Regions from separate parts of the Homo sapiens genome. Here regions 2, 3 and 4 are each linked to region 1. The links are contacts of gene promoters, found by promoter capture Hi-C in blood cells and fetal thymus (Javierre and others, 2016). All regions are on one chromosome and are shown on one strand. Each heading gives the region's core, a stretch centred on a gene start or on the middle of the fragment in contact. The rest is flanking DNA. Distances are from core to core; before and after follow the strand shown. Region 1 holds the start of ZNF397 (zinc finger protein 397). Region 2 has its middle 10 kb from the start of GALNT1. Region 3 has its middle 3.5 kb from the start of INO80C. Region 4 has its middle 77 kb from the start of MAPRE2.

Evidence for each region. Contacts are between HindIII fragments. The CHiCAGO score rates a contact against its expected background, and 5 or more counts as called.
Region 2: a contact is called between a fragment that was not itself captured here and the fragment with the promoter of ZNF397 in region 1, in 2 of 17 cell types (total B cells and total CD8 T cells). The highest score is 6.2, in total B cells.
Region 3: a fragment that was not itself captured here is called in contact with the fragment with the promoter of ZNF397 in region 1 in 9 of 17 cell types (non-activated CD4 T cells, activated CD4 T cells, naive CD4 T cells and 6 more); the score reaches 11.8 in non-activated CD4 T cells.
Region 4: a contact is called between a fragment that was not itself captured here and the fragment with the promoter of ZNF397 in region 1, in 4 of 17 cell types (activated CD4 T cells, total CD8 T cells, naive CD8 T cells and 1 more). The highest score is 7.2, in activated CD4 T cells.

What each region holds. Positions count from the first base shown.
Region 1 is chr18:35,239,271-35,242,536 of GRCh38, reverse strand. It overlaps ZNF397 (zinc finger protein 397), which reads right to left and starts at 1,503. Exons shown (of 4, transcript NM_001135178.3): 1 at 1,428-1,503; 2 at 1-146. The coding sequence starts at 66. RefSeq lists a silencer at 1,322-1,451 and enhancers at 1,241-1,766, 1,712-1,821. The HindIII fragment of the contact is 1,449 bases long and covers 921-2,369 here.
Region 2 is chr18:35,569,558-35,572,958 of GRCh38, reverse strand. No RefSeq gene overlaps it. Among named protein-coding and RNA genes, the nearest start is that of GALNT1, 10 kb to the left of the region's middle. The HindIII fragment of the contact is 558 bases long and covers 1,494-2,051 here.
Region 3 is chr18:35,499,823-35,503,171 of GRCh38, reverse strand. No RefSeq gene overlaps it. Among named protein-coding and RNA genes, the nearest start is that of INO80C, 3.5 kb to the right of the region's middle. The HindIII fragment of the contact is 1,722 bases long and covers 1,199-2,920 here.
Region 4 is chr18:34,962,356-34,965,568 of GRCh38, reverse strand. No RefSeq gene overlaps it. Among named protein-coding and RNA genes, the nearest start is that of MAPRE2, 77 kb to the left of the region's middle. The HindIII fragment of the contact is 153 bases long and covers 1,800-1,952 here.

The DNA of each region.
Region 1 (3,266 bases), core at 254-2,753:
TATTAGTTCTTGTTCCGGAGGATCCTGAGGTATCAGGGTTGAAATCACTCCAGATTCCACAGCCATTCTTGGCTGAAACAGCTTAGCAAAAAGCTCAGTACAACTGGTTCTGTGCTTGCGAAGGAGTGTGAGTAATCTCTTCTTTCCTGAAGGATATAAAAGCAGTTAACTTACAGCAATCAATAAAATCTCTAAGTACTTGTAATAAGAAAGATGAGTAACTTTAGTAATATATTGAAAGGGAGTAGATTTGGGGCTATCACTAAATAAAACAATAATGTGATGATAAACTAAAAATCATTAACCTCAATTAGTGTCTCCCATTATGAAGAATTCCTACCACTAATGTTAGAAAAAACTATTTTAGAAGCCTAAGAATGTGAATGCAACATTAACATCAATCACATAGTGAGAAAATTTCCTTTCCAATTCTTTCAATTCTGATTGTATCAAGGAGAAAAGTCTATCTTTAACATGTATGTATTAATAAAACTTGTAGAACTCTCTTTTAAATAAAATACAGGCTTCAGAATCAGACTTCCAAGAGTAAAAATATTTAGGCAGAATTTAGTAATACTGATTTTAAACATTTATTTTTACTTACTTTCTATCTAAAGCAAGTAATGTTGATTTTCATTTAAGGCAGTAATAACGTTTTTTTAAAAGTTCACATTAAACATGAGTTGATGTAAATATTGGATATTTGTCATTTGATCGCATTTGGTGTTTACCGAATTACTTCAACAAACACTGAGGCACTTACTGAGCATTAAGATTTTTGCTTATGAATAAACGAGTCTACAGAGGAATTGACCAAGAACCAAGACGTATCTGTAAAATGCTTACCATGTGTTCAAAAACATGATAGGTATCACATACACAAAAGCAGCAAAGAGATCCGTATCAGTTCTGAAAAAGCTTAGAATATCCCAAGACTAAAAATGTTCAAAAGCAAAATATGGTAACAAATAGGTATTAAATGTTGTGACACAGACCAAACTTGACCTGCTTTTAGGATGGCGAGATATCGATAGGAATGTATGCCCTTAGTTTGTCAGGACAGATGAGTAAAATTCATTCCTCACACTACGGTTAACGTTAAGAGATGAATTAAAATATTTAGCCTACAAATTTAAGGTTTAACCAGTCCGGCCGCACTAACTAACTAACTAACTAGCCCTTCTATTTTTATATCCTTGGTTAAACCGCAGCATTTACGAAGTCACGGGGTCAGCGGAACTGCGTTTTCCTTTGGAAAGCAGGAGTTTGAGTGCTGGCCTCCTCTGAGTTCCCCAGTCGCTTGGAGACGCCGCGCGGGCCAAAGGGCCGCGACCTGGGGATGGGCAGGCCGAGGAGCGGAGCTCCTCCACTGTCCGGCGCGCGCTCCCAACCCCACCTCCCTCTTCCTAGGGGCCCACGTCCCTCACCGCGAAGCCCAGGAGCGGCCAGGAAATGAGCCACCCACCCCGAGCTGCAAGCCACAAAGACCGGAAGTGCGCGTACGCAGTGTTCCGCTCTCGCGCCCTTCGGGTCCTCCGCCGCCCCGCCCCTTGCTCTGAGGTAGCCAATCAGAGCCGCGGGCTCTACAGTTTCCACCGCCTTCTCCCGGTAGCCGCTAGCCCGGCGGAATCTCCAAGGCCAGGGGAGGGTGCGCTAGGAGTCAGGGGTCCTTGTGAGCGGCGGCACCTGGAGGGTCCCGCATCTCGCCTGGGCCGTTCCCACCCTGGCTTTCTCCTGGCACCACCCATCATTGTTGGTCTCAAGTAATTCCCGAATCTCACTCCCAGTTTTCCATTAAAATATTCAGATTTTCGGCCGGGCGCGGTGGCCGAGGCGGGCGGATCACGAGGTCAGGAGATAGAGACCATCCTGGCTAACACGGTGAAACCCCGTCTCTACTAAAAATACAAAAATTTAGCTGGGCATGTTGGCGGGCGCCTGTAGTTCCAGCTACTCGGGAGGCTGAGGCAGGAGAATGGCGTGAACCCGGGAGGCGGAGCTTGCAGTGAACTGAGATGTGCTGCACTCCAGCCTGGGCGACAGAGCGAGACTCTGTCTCAAAAAAAAAAAAAAAAAAAAAACCTCAGATTTTCCTGTGATTCCAGTTCTTTTCCGACAAAAGTAAATGTAAGGATGAATAGGCTGAACAAAAACTAACAGTCACTTATATTGCTTTTGCCTATGAGTATCACTGGAGCCTTACAACAGTTCTGTGCTGTGGCTATATAATCCCAAATTTACAGCCGTAGACATCGCCCAAAGTCAGGCAACTTGTGACCAGGGACGTCCACGTCCCCATAGTTCAAGGAGACTGGTATCGTAGACTCCTGGAGCCTATCTTAGGGTCTTCCCGTTCTTCAGTGGAAGCTTGCTGGTATTGTCTCACTGTTTAAATTTTTCTTTGGCTATTTAGTCGGTGAAAAATGATGCCTCATGTTTCAACTTTGTGAGCTTAAGATAGTCCCCCTTCATGTTTACTGACCATTTATGGTTCTTCAGAGATGGCTTTTCCCATTTAAAAAATTAAGGGAGTAAGATTTTTCTTTTTTATTTGTGAGAATTTTTTGCTTATTAAGGATAGCAACTCGTTTGTTGCAAATCGTTTCCCATTTATTTGTATTTATTTTTAAAACGTTACATTTTACATGTTTAAATGTTACATATTTTTAAAATGTTATATTAAAAAAGTACACAGGATAATAACAAAGCGATACATACATACATAGAAACAAATTCTCCTTTGTGAGCCAAGACTTAAAACACATATTTGAGAAAAATGTTCGTTAGCATTCAAAGCTATTAGTGACTCACTAAATAATTTTATCATTGTGAAATGACTACAGCAATTTTACAAAGCAAAAAACCAAATAATATTAATTTGTTTATAAATTATCAATTGCTTCATAATGAACCACTTCAAGACTTAGTGACTAAAAACAGCAGATGTTTTATTGCTCACAGTTCTGTTGCCAGGAATTCAGGAAGGGCTTAGCGGAGATGGCTAGTCTGCTTTATGATGTGTCAGCTATCTTCACTTAACTGGGGTGGAAGGTCCAAGATGGCTTCACTCAAATTGCTGAAGTCTTGGTGTTGCCTCTTGGTTGAAGTTACTTGATTCTTCTCCACAAGGCCTCTCTCCATTCAGGAGTTTAGCCTAAGCTTTCTTACATGGTGACTGGCTTCCAAGAGAGTTAAGGAGGAGGAAAGATGCTAATTCTCTTAAAGCCTGAGTCTGGAACTGGCATTATATTTTTCTGCAGTATTCC
Region 2 (3,401 bases), core at 523-3,022, 330 kb before region 1:
ATTTCAAGCTCATGAGTCACTGTCTGCAGCTATGCTGGACTTAGTCAGGCTTGGCTGTATGCATCTTCTCATTTTGGGACTTAGGCTAAAGAAGTGGCCATTATTTAGGGCATGTTCTTCCCATGGCAGACGGCCACAGCTGAAGAGGAGCAACACAAACACATGATATTTTTGGAAGCCTCTGTTTACAACTGGCCACTGTCACTTCCACCCACATTCCATTGTTGAAAATAATTCACACGGCCAAAGTGAGAGTCAACGGAGTAGGGATGGCACTATATGTGCTCTACCAGGAAGCATGCGAAAAATCACACGACGAAGAGTGTGGATGTATAATTCTTCACAGGAGGGAGCAGAATTGGGATCAATAAGCCAAGCTATCATACACAAATATCTATTGAGTCCCACGTATCGAAGACAAGGAATAGAGCTCATTAACACCACTCCTGTCTCCCTCCTCTTCTCAAAGTGTCTTAGTAGTATTATACATAGTTCTTCTACTGGCTTACTTTGTAACTTTAAATTGATAGGTAAAGTGTTTCCTTGATCATTCAACTTTTGATAGCATCTCTCAAGTCTTCATTATAAAAAATAATGAGGCTACATACACCCTTACATTTTCATACCTCCTTTTCCCTTTCTATCTCACAACTCTTACACCATGGTTTATGACATTTCCATTGTGTTTTAGAACTATTATTATCTTCTATGCCTTGTATATAAGATGATTTAAAAAACTAGAATCCAATAAAGGGCACTTACAATACTGTAATTGCATACATATTATTTTCCATAGAACCAAAAACTTTAGTTGGACTTGCAGAAAAGGAAATGGAACACTTCTCCTAAATATGTGTAGCTACAAGATGAATACTTCAGAAACCAAGATCAAATGGTTTATCATTCATTACACCCCTGTTCAGAATTGTGCTACATTTAATTTGTTTTATATAGACTGATTTTGCTGTAGAGCTTTTTATTTTTCAAGGAATTTCTGTTTGTCTTATTTTATTATCTTGTTAACAGAAAAACAATTACCTTCATTCTATTTGTAAATTCATACGCCTTCTTAAATCATATTTAATTGCTGAAGTGAATTTATTTTCTTATTAAACACATTCATCTCCAAGTCTGACTATGTGCTTAATTCGAAACAATTGCCTTTACTAGGAATTCTTTTTATCGCTATTCTGATTTGTGGCCATTATTTCTTGGATTCCATGTATTCATCTTTTTTGATTTCCATTTTCATTTTCCTAGAGCATATGCTCAAGTGACTTTTTTTTTTCCAGAAAAAGAATTTAATGTTGACTCCTTTCAGTCTGACTTGCAGATTGGTAAACTGGCTGGGCATAGAATTCTATGGCTTATGCCACTTTCTGTTAGCACTTTGAAGCCGTTGTTTCATTGTAGTCCATCTAAACCTGGAAAATCTGAAAGTTGATATGATTCTCATCTCACTGCAAATTAGTTGTTTTTGCTCTCAGAAAGCTTTTAAAAGTTTTCTCTTTAACTTGGTATACTAAAATTTCATAAGGATATTTGAGTTCACAATGAGTCCTTTTAAAAAAGCAGTTACTTAACCCACAGGCATTTTTAATGTCTCATTACATAGTCAGCAGTGTTGAAGACGTGGGTGACATATAAGAGAGCACAATTGTTTCTCAGAGCATTTCAGTCTATAGGAGGACATTTACAGTCCAGCTAAAAAATGATTAAATGGCTGTTATATAATAAATTTTAATAAGGCAAATTGAGTTCAGTTATTCACTTTGTGTCTCATAAGATTGTGTAGAGGCTATTTTTGTACCTTCTGATGAAAATGTTAAATTCTGGAACTTTATGAAGAGGGAACAAAGTCAGCCACTTCTTTGTTTATTTTCTCTTTTTGCTAAAATCTAAAGTTAGTTTTTCTAGTAATTCTTCTCCAAATAAATATTTCAAATTATATTACAATAGGTCATTCATTTAATTAGTGACTACAGAAGTTAAAAATAATTATTTTTATTTCCTCTTTTTGACTTGTAACTAGATCACATTTATAATAAGCTTCTTGCTGGCTAGGTTTTATCTCCTTGAGACTGTTGCTATACTCTTTTTAGGATTATAGAAATTATATCCTGTAACCATGACCATTTTTGTCTGTTTCTTGAGGCTGTACTCCTAGATGTCGTCTAAGGCCAGATTCCCATCATCACAGTGAATAATGACATGAGCTCTTTTCAGAGTAGCAGAGAATGAATGAGATGTGATTGGAAATATAGACCCAGGACAGTTTCCCAAAAAATGAATAAAGTGAGAATACCATCTTCAAATGTCTTTATAATTTCCTTGTCTCCAATAAAAGAAAACAAGGAATATTCTAGAGAAATTGATATTTTAAAGCATAGAAAAAGAGCTTACTTCTTTTATGCTGAAGCCTTGAGATCCCTTAAAATCATATTTCCCAGTCCTTAGTGTGATTCAGAATTCTCCAGAGATGCTTGTTAAAAATATAGTTCTCTGAGCTCCACCCTTAGGAGTATCTTGGGGCAGGTAGAGCTGGCTCTATCCACTCCCATTCCTGGAGACCTTCCAAGAAAGTCTCAGTTTTTTGATAGATCTCGTTCCAGAAATTAAAAACCTAAAGATCTGTATTGCAAAAGGATAACTGCATGCACTTGCCAAACAGTTGCCACCCACCCCACCCTCAAAAGGTGTTGCCGTGTTCAGAAGGCCTTACAATGTTTATATTTCTTTGGGTATCTGTTAGTAACTTAGATAACTAACTGATGTTGACTAAGTTAGATGAGATAGGACATTAAAAATTGTCCTTTGAGAGTTTTCTTTTCTTTTCTTTTTGAGACAGCATTTCGCTCTTGTTGCCCAGGCTGGAGTGCAATGGCACAATCTCGGCTCACTGCAACCTCCTCCTCCCAGGTTCAAGCAATTTTCCTGCCTCAGCCTCCCAAGTAGCTGGGATTACAGGCATGCGCCACCACGCCTGGCTAATTTTTGTATTTTTAGTAGAGACAGAGTTTCACCATGTTGGCCGGGCAGGCCTTGAACTCCTGGCCTCAGGTTATCCACCTGCCTCAGCCTCCAGAAGTACTGGGATTACAGGTATGAGCCACCACACTCCAGCCCCTTCAGGAGTTTTCTTAATGTATCTTCTCAGACAAATGATTGGAAGACAAATCTTAAAGCAGAGGAAGTTGAAATCCTAATAATGGACTTTGTGTGTGTGTGTGTGTGTGTGTGTGTGTGTGTGTGTGTGTGTGTGCATGTGTCTGTATGTGTATGTGACACATATACCCTAGCATACACATAATCACACTCAGACATATACACACATGTGCACCAGACTTTTATTGTAGATATGATAATTCATATTCAGAAGGAAATGTCAGATGTTTGAAGTC
Region 3 (3,349 bases), core at 810-3,309, 260 kb before region 1:
CATCCACTGGGCCCGAGCTCTCTTCTGCTCTCTCTATTAATACTGATTGTTTACAATGAGGCACATAGCAGATTGCCACCGAGGGACTGCAATACTCTGAAAACAGCGACAAAGAAGAAACTGTGTCTGCTCAAGTGAGCCTGTGACCCACAAGCACTTACCAAACGATATACTTTGGTCTGTGATGGAGAAAACACAGGCTACTTTAGGAAGGTTCCTCAGAGATGGTGTTCCAGGAATGAGTGCTGCTCTCACACTCCTGAGAGGACTGCCACTGGTCTCTGAGGATTCCATCAGCTTCTCACTGCAATGGGTTTGTTTTCAACTGCACGTCCCCAGAGCTCAGAGTAGACAGTGCACACTAAGCTGCCTCTTTCAGTATCTGGGAGTTGGGGGATTTTGAGCATCTTGACTGCAACAGCTTCAAGGTTTCTTCCCTTCATCAAGGAGTCCCATATCAACTGGAACAGCCATTTTTCATACAGTGAGCATGACTAGCACACTTCACACAAGGTGTCAAGAGAAGAGCAGTGTGTCTTCCATGCAATAGCAGCATGATCCCAAATATCTACTGTGTTTGCTGAGATCTTTGAGAGACAGTAAATTCGGCACTCTGTGTCTCAAGTCATACATAGTAGCTTAGCAGGCACATTATTCATTCTTAATCATTGTCTTAACTGGGATCAAGACTCTGGCTGAGGCTGCTTAACTGGTACACCGCAGTCAGGGCATCAATATCCCAGAGAAAGCCCCAGCAGCCTTTGCCAAAGGAAGTGTGGCATTGGTGAGGGAAACAGGAGCTGCAAGTACCAGGAAGGAAGCTGAAGAGGAAGTGCAAGAGAGGGCGCACACTACGGCAGGGGTGAGACACACCCTGCAAGTTTTCAGGAATAACTGAGGAGGGAACTTAGGGCAGCCTTAGGCCCTGTCTCAACACATAAGCTAGCAGAATGTTGAGTCATCAGTATTAATTTATCTTTACCAATGGACAAGGAAACCCATGAGTTACATATGCAGCAAGTATATGGGATCCTGGTATGTGCCAACACTGGTAGTAACTGGCACTACCACGGTGATCATGGGGCAGGTTTCTCAAGCCAATGTCCTCCAGCATTTCTCCCACTCTCCTTGTTGCTGTCATCTGTTGATGCTCTGCCACTCAATCCCTGATGACTCTGGCAACTGCCTATAGGAAGCTTAAGTCCAGCTGAGAAGACAAATATAATATCTTTCCTTCCCTACTAGAAATGTATGTACTGGGCTACATAGAAAGATCCTCCCAAAAAAAAAGAAAAAAAGGTAATCAACAGGGATTAAATAACTGAGAGAGACTGATGGGAATGTGGAACCAGACCAGAGGAGAGGGAACACTGAAAATGTAGCATGTCAGCCAAGATAGGAAGGGTGCGTGGAATTTAGTGAGACCAGAGGAGGGTGGGGTCGGGAGAAAAGCAGCTTCCAGGCAGGAGGAGCAGTGTGTCAAGGCCTGAGGGAGGAGGGGCACAGCTGGTTGTTGGAACTAACAAAAGTGAAAACTGAGCAGGAGTGCAGGGACCTGGGACAGAGGCAAGCTGGAGAGATGGCAGGTCTCTAAGGACCTTTGGAACCACCTCGTGGACAATGGGCTTCATTCTAGGGACCACAGGAAGCCACTGAATGGTTTCAAGCAGGCGGTGTGATCTGAAAAATGCACATTTGTATCTTTAAAGAAATCATCTGGAATCGCATGTTGGAACTGGGTTGCACGGACCAAAGGTGGAGGCAGAAAGAGAACGCATAAGGCCACTTTGCAAGTCCAGAGAGAGATGGTGGCTGGAATACGGTTATGGTGTGGAGTGGAGGAAGGGGAGGAGTCAAGGATGACTCCCAAGTTTTGGTCTGAAGAACTGGTGGCTAATCGTGGCATTTGCTGAGACAGGAAACACTGAAGGAGGAATCTGTTTTAGAGGAGCAGAGAGGATGATGAATTCTGTTTTTGCCATGCGGAGTGAAAGATGCGTGTAAGCATCTGAGTTTATACTAGGGAAAGGAATTTTACGTCCAGGTATGCTTTTTTTTTTTTTTTTTTGAGACGGAGTCTTCCTCTGTCGCCCAGGCTCACTGAAACCTCCACCCTCCGAGTTCAAGTGATTCTTGTGCCTCAGTCTCCCAAGTAGCTGGGGCTACAGGCAGGCCCCACCATGCTTGGCTAATTTTTGTATTTTTTTAGTAGAGACGAGGTTTCACCCATGTTGGCCAGGCTGGACTTGAACTCCTGACCTCAAGTGATCCACTCGCCTCGGCTTCCCAAAGTGTTGGGATTACAGACATGAGCCACCATACCTGGCCTTGGGTATGCATCTTTGGAGAAAGAGCCAGATAAAGGATGCAAATCTGAAAGTGGTCTGCATTTAGGTGGTAACTGAATCCGCAAGAAATGGTGCAATGGCTGGGGAGAGTATCAACTGAGAAGAGCAGAGGGCCTTGGACCAAGCACCAAGGAACTCTCAATATGTAAGGATTCTGTGCAAGAGTCTGGTTTCAAACCTGGCTGATCATTAGAATCACTTGGGAAACTTTTAAAATGTGAATCTACAGGAGCATGTGACTATATATTTTGAAAAACCTGTAGTAGCATTAGAGACCATTTGGTAACAGAAGACTGGCCAGGAAAGAGGAAAACAAAAAGATGGTGATGTTTCAGATACCAAGGGAAGAATTTCAGAAAGAAAGGAATCAGACAAGATCAGGCCTGAATTTAGTAACAGGAAACCAGATGGCGGTGCATCCACTTGTCTGACTCCTTAAAAGTAGGGAGTTGGTGTTTGAACTCAATAAGGGATGACAGGAAGCAGCCCAGCAGGTCCCCCTGTGCTCACGTGCACAGCGTGAGGACAGGGAAAGGGAAGGGGAAGGAAGGTGTGTCAGATGGCAGAAAGCTTTTCATTGGAAGTAGCATCTGAACTGAGGCAAAATGGATGGTAATCAGGCAAGGAGCTAAGCATTCCCAGGAGAGGAAATAATAGAAACAAAAATATGACAAGCTAAGAAAACATATACATTCTAGGAAATAGAGTTAGTCCTTGGCTGGAACACAAGGAATTAAGTGTTGGGAACCAAGCAACAGAATGGGGCACAGCCCAGTTGTTGTTGTTGTTGTTGTTGTTGTCGTTTTGAGGCGGAGTCTTGCTCTGTTGCCAGGCTGGAGTGCAGTGGCACGATCTCTGCTCACTGCAATCTCCCGGGTTCAAGCGATTCTCCTGCCTCAGCCTTCTGAGTAGCTGGGATTACAGGCGCATGCCACCATACTCAGCTAATTTTTGTATTTTTAGTAGAGACGAGGTTTCACCGTGTTGGACAGGATGGCCTT
Region 4 (3,213 bases), core at 627-3,126, 280 kb after region 1:
TCATAACTCCTCCTTTCCTTTTATTTTCTTTGTTGATTTTCTTTCTTACAAGAATCTTACAAGATTAAACAAATTTTAGACAAGTCACAAACATTACTATGTTAGTTTAATACAAATGCATGTTTATAATAGCAATGACAACATAGGAACAGGGATCAGGAGTCCATGTCACTGCCACAGAAACCTTTATGATGGTTGCAGATCTTTGTGATTATCTCCAGAACAGTGATATGTTTTGATGCCAGGTCAGACTCTGGCTAAAGGCCAAGTTAGCAACATGCTCTTTTATTCATAATGAGCTCTAGCTTGCATGAAGTGGAACCAAGTGCGACACTTTTGATCCTGGCTTCTAGAAACCTCAGATTCCAGAAACAGTGTCTGACTGGCTTTTTCAAATCAGGAGAGAGCACTGTGTAGTTAAAGAAAAAGAAATCATCAAAAAGCCCAGAAACAGTCAACTAGTTAAACAGATTGTAGTTCAGTTATGTGATGGATTATTTGGTAGCTGCTGAAAAAAATCAGCAGTTAAATATATTTAGGTATTTACGTTAAAGATACTTAGGGGCATGGAAAAATGATCACTTTAATATATTACGGGACAAAAACAAGATTCCAAGGTTTTGAATCTGATATATGCAGTGTGATGTCATTTGAGTAAAGTAAGTTCCCATATGTTTTCATACATGTAAAAGTAAGTAAATAGATAAAGTTGAATAAAACATTTTAAAATGGTGATATTCCTGATTATAGGGGATTTCTATTTTTTTCTTTTTATACTTTTCCCTTTTTTTTTTTTTTTTTACGGAAGCTTACTGTGTCTCCCAGGCTGGAGTGCAGTGTCACAATCTCACGATCTCGGCTTACCGCAACCCCCACCTCCTGGGTTCAAGCGATTCTCCTGCCTCAGCCTCCCGAGTAGCTGGGACTACAGGCACGCACCATCACGCCCAGATAATTTTTGTATTTTTGTAGAGACAGGGTTTTGCCATGTTGGCCAGGCTGGTCTCGAACTCCTGACCTCAGGTGATCCACCTGCCTTGGCCTCCCAAAGTTTTAGTAGACATTTTTATTGGCTTTTGTGTGTCAAAAATAAATCAGTCTCTCTCTTTGTATATGTAGTTGTGTGTATGTGTGTGTGTGTGTGTGTTTGGCCTGTGGTGCTGACGCCAAACAACTGGGCACCACTGCCTAGCCAAGTTGACTAGTAAAATTAACCATCACACTTTTCAAGCATTCATTTTTACATTCTTTTTTTTTAGTAATAAGAAAATTTTTCAGTTTTCCCTGTTCGGTCCCTATACATTTCATGTACATTTTCACTTTCCTAAAAACGGTTACAATTCAGGTGAACTGAGATGACTTAGATGACCTTAGCAGATGAATATTACAATTTTTACTTAGAGGCCGGGTGCAGTGGCTCACGCCTGTAATCCCAACACTTTGGGAGGCCGAGGCGGGTGAATCGCCTGAGGTCAGGAGTTTGAGACCAGCCTGGCCAACATGGTGAAACTCCATCTCTGCTAAAAATACAAAAATTAGCCGGGAGTGGTGGCAGGTTCCTGTAATCCCAGCTACTCAGGAGGCTGAGGCAGGAGAATCACTTGAATCGGGGAGGCAGAGGTTGCAGTGAGCCAAGATTGCACCATTGCACTCCAGCCTAGGGACAAGAGTGTGACTTCATCTCAAAAAAAAAAAAAAAAAAAGATTTTTTACTTAGAATGCTAGGATAGAATTTCTGTCTCCATTGTAGTGTAGGGGGTGCAGATGGGAAACCTGGAACAGATACCACGAAAGAAGCTTGTCTCAAGAAGGCTGACACAATGGGAGACATAGCAGGGAGATGGAAAGAAACTGCTGTTGTGATAGCCATTAGTTCCTGAATTAAATCAACTCTACCCTCTGTTCTTCCTCTGGATTTTCAGTTACACACATTTTTCTTACATAATCAAGCTTTTCTGTTACCTGCAACCATATTTCAGCTAATACTCAGTATTTTTCAGGTTTTTAACAAATATACATTACTTTTATGCTAACAAAATAATTATTATATTCATTGATTCTAAGACAAACTTTTTTTTACCTTTTAAAATCCTTGAAATTGGCATGTATTATACAATCCATGGCATGTCATAATTTAATAGAACTTTCTTTCATAGGATACATTAAAAAGTAATGTTGCGAGGCACAGAAAGATAAATATTACATGTTCTCACTCATATATAGAAGAAAAAAAGTAGATCTCATGAAGATAGAGAATAGATTGGTGGTTACCAGAGGCCAGGAAGAGTAGGGGAGAGGAGGAAATGAAAAGAAGTTGATTGATGGGTACAGTTTGATAGATTAAATAAGACCTACTGTTTGATAGATGAGTAGGGTGACTATACTTTACAATAATCTATTGTATATTTGAAGATAGTTGAAAGAATAATTTGAATGTTTCTAGCATAGAGAAAAGACAAATATTTAAGATGATGGACATCCCAATTACACTGATTTGATCTTTACAAATTATATGAATGTATTATCACATACTCTGAAATTATATACGTCTATTATGTATAATAATAATACGTTGATTGTCATATTCAATGATGCTTTAGACTTGATGAAAAACAATAATGTTTTAGACTTGATCAAAGTATTTTTTAAGAAAGATGGAATGCCAATGCCCAGGACACCTGGAAGGATATGGCATATACTACTGGCACCATATAGCGACCTGGATGACCCCACATTTCTGGATTGGTCCAAGAAGAAATCAGAAGCTTAGAACTTGGCTTTGCTGTACTGCTAAGGCTAACATAAGCTAGGCTGACACAGAACACTTTATTATTGCTATTAAAATGAGAGCAAATGTTTTCCTTTCAAAGACTGTAGATCACTGCTTGAAATGGCCTAGCAGTACATAATTTTTAGTATCTATTTTCTTTTCAGTTTACTATATTGTTTTATATGACTTTTTGTTTCAAATGGCTTCAAAATCAACTTCCTCAGTCATGCCACTTCAAGCTCTCACATACATGAGCATTAAATAGTAAGATCATATTATGCACATGTGCATATGGTGTTAAAACACTTTTCAATCTATTATATAACTAGATTCTGTAACATTTTTGTGAGTTAGGCACGGTATTATGATCCCTTTAGTATTCAAGAGACTTTCTGTCACAGAGTAGTTGGTGTAGAGACAGGACTTCCAATGGACTGGAAAGA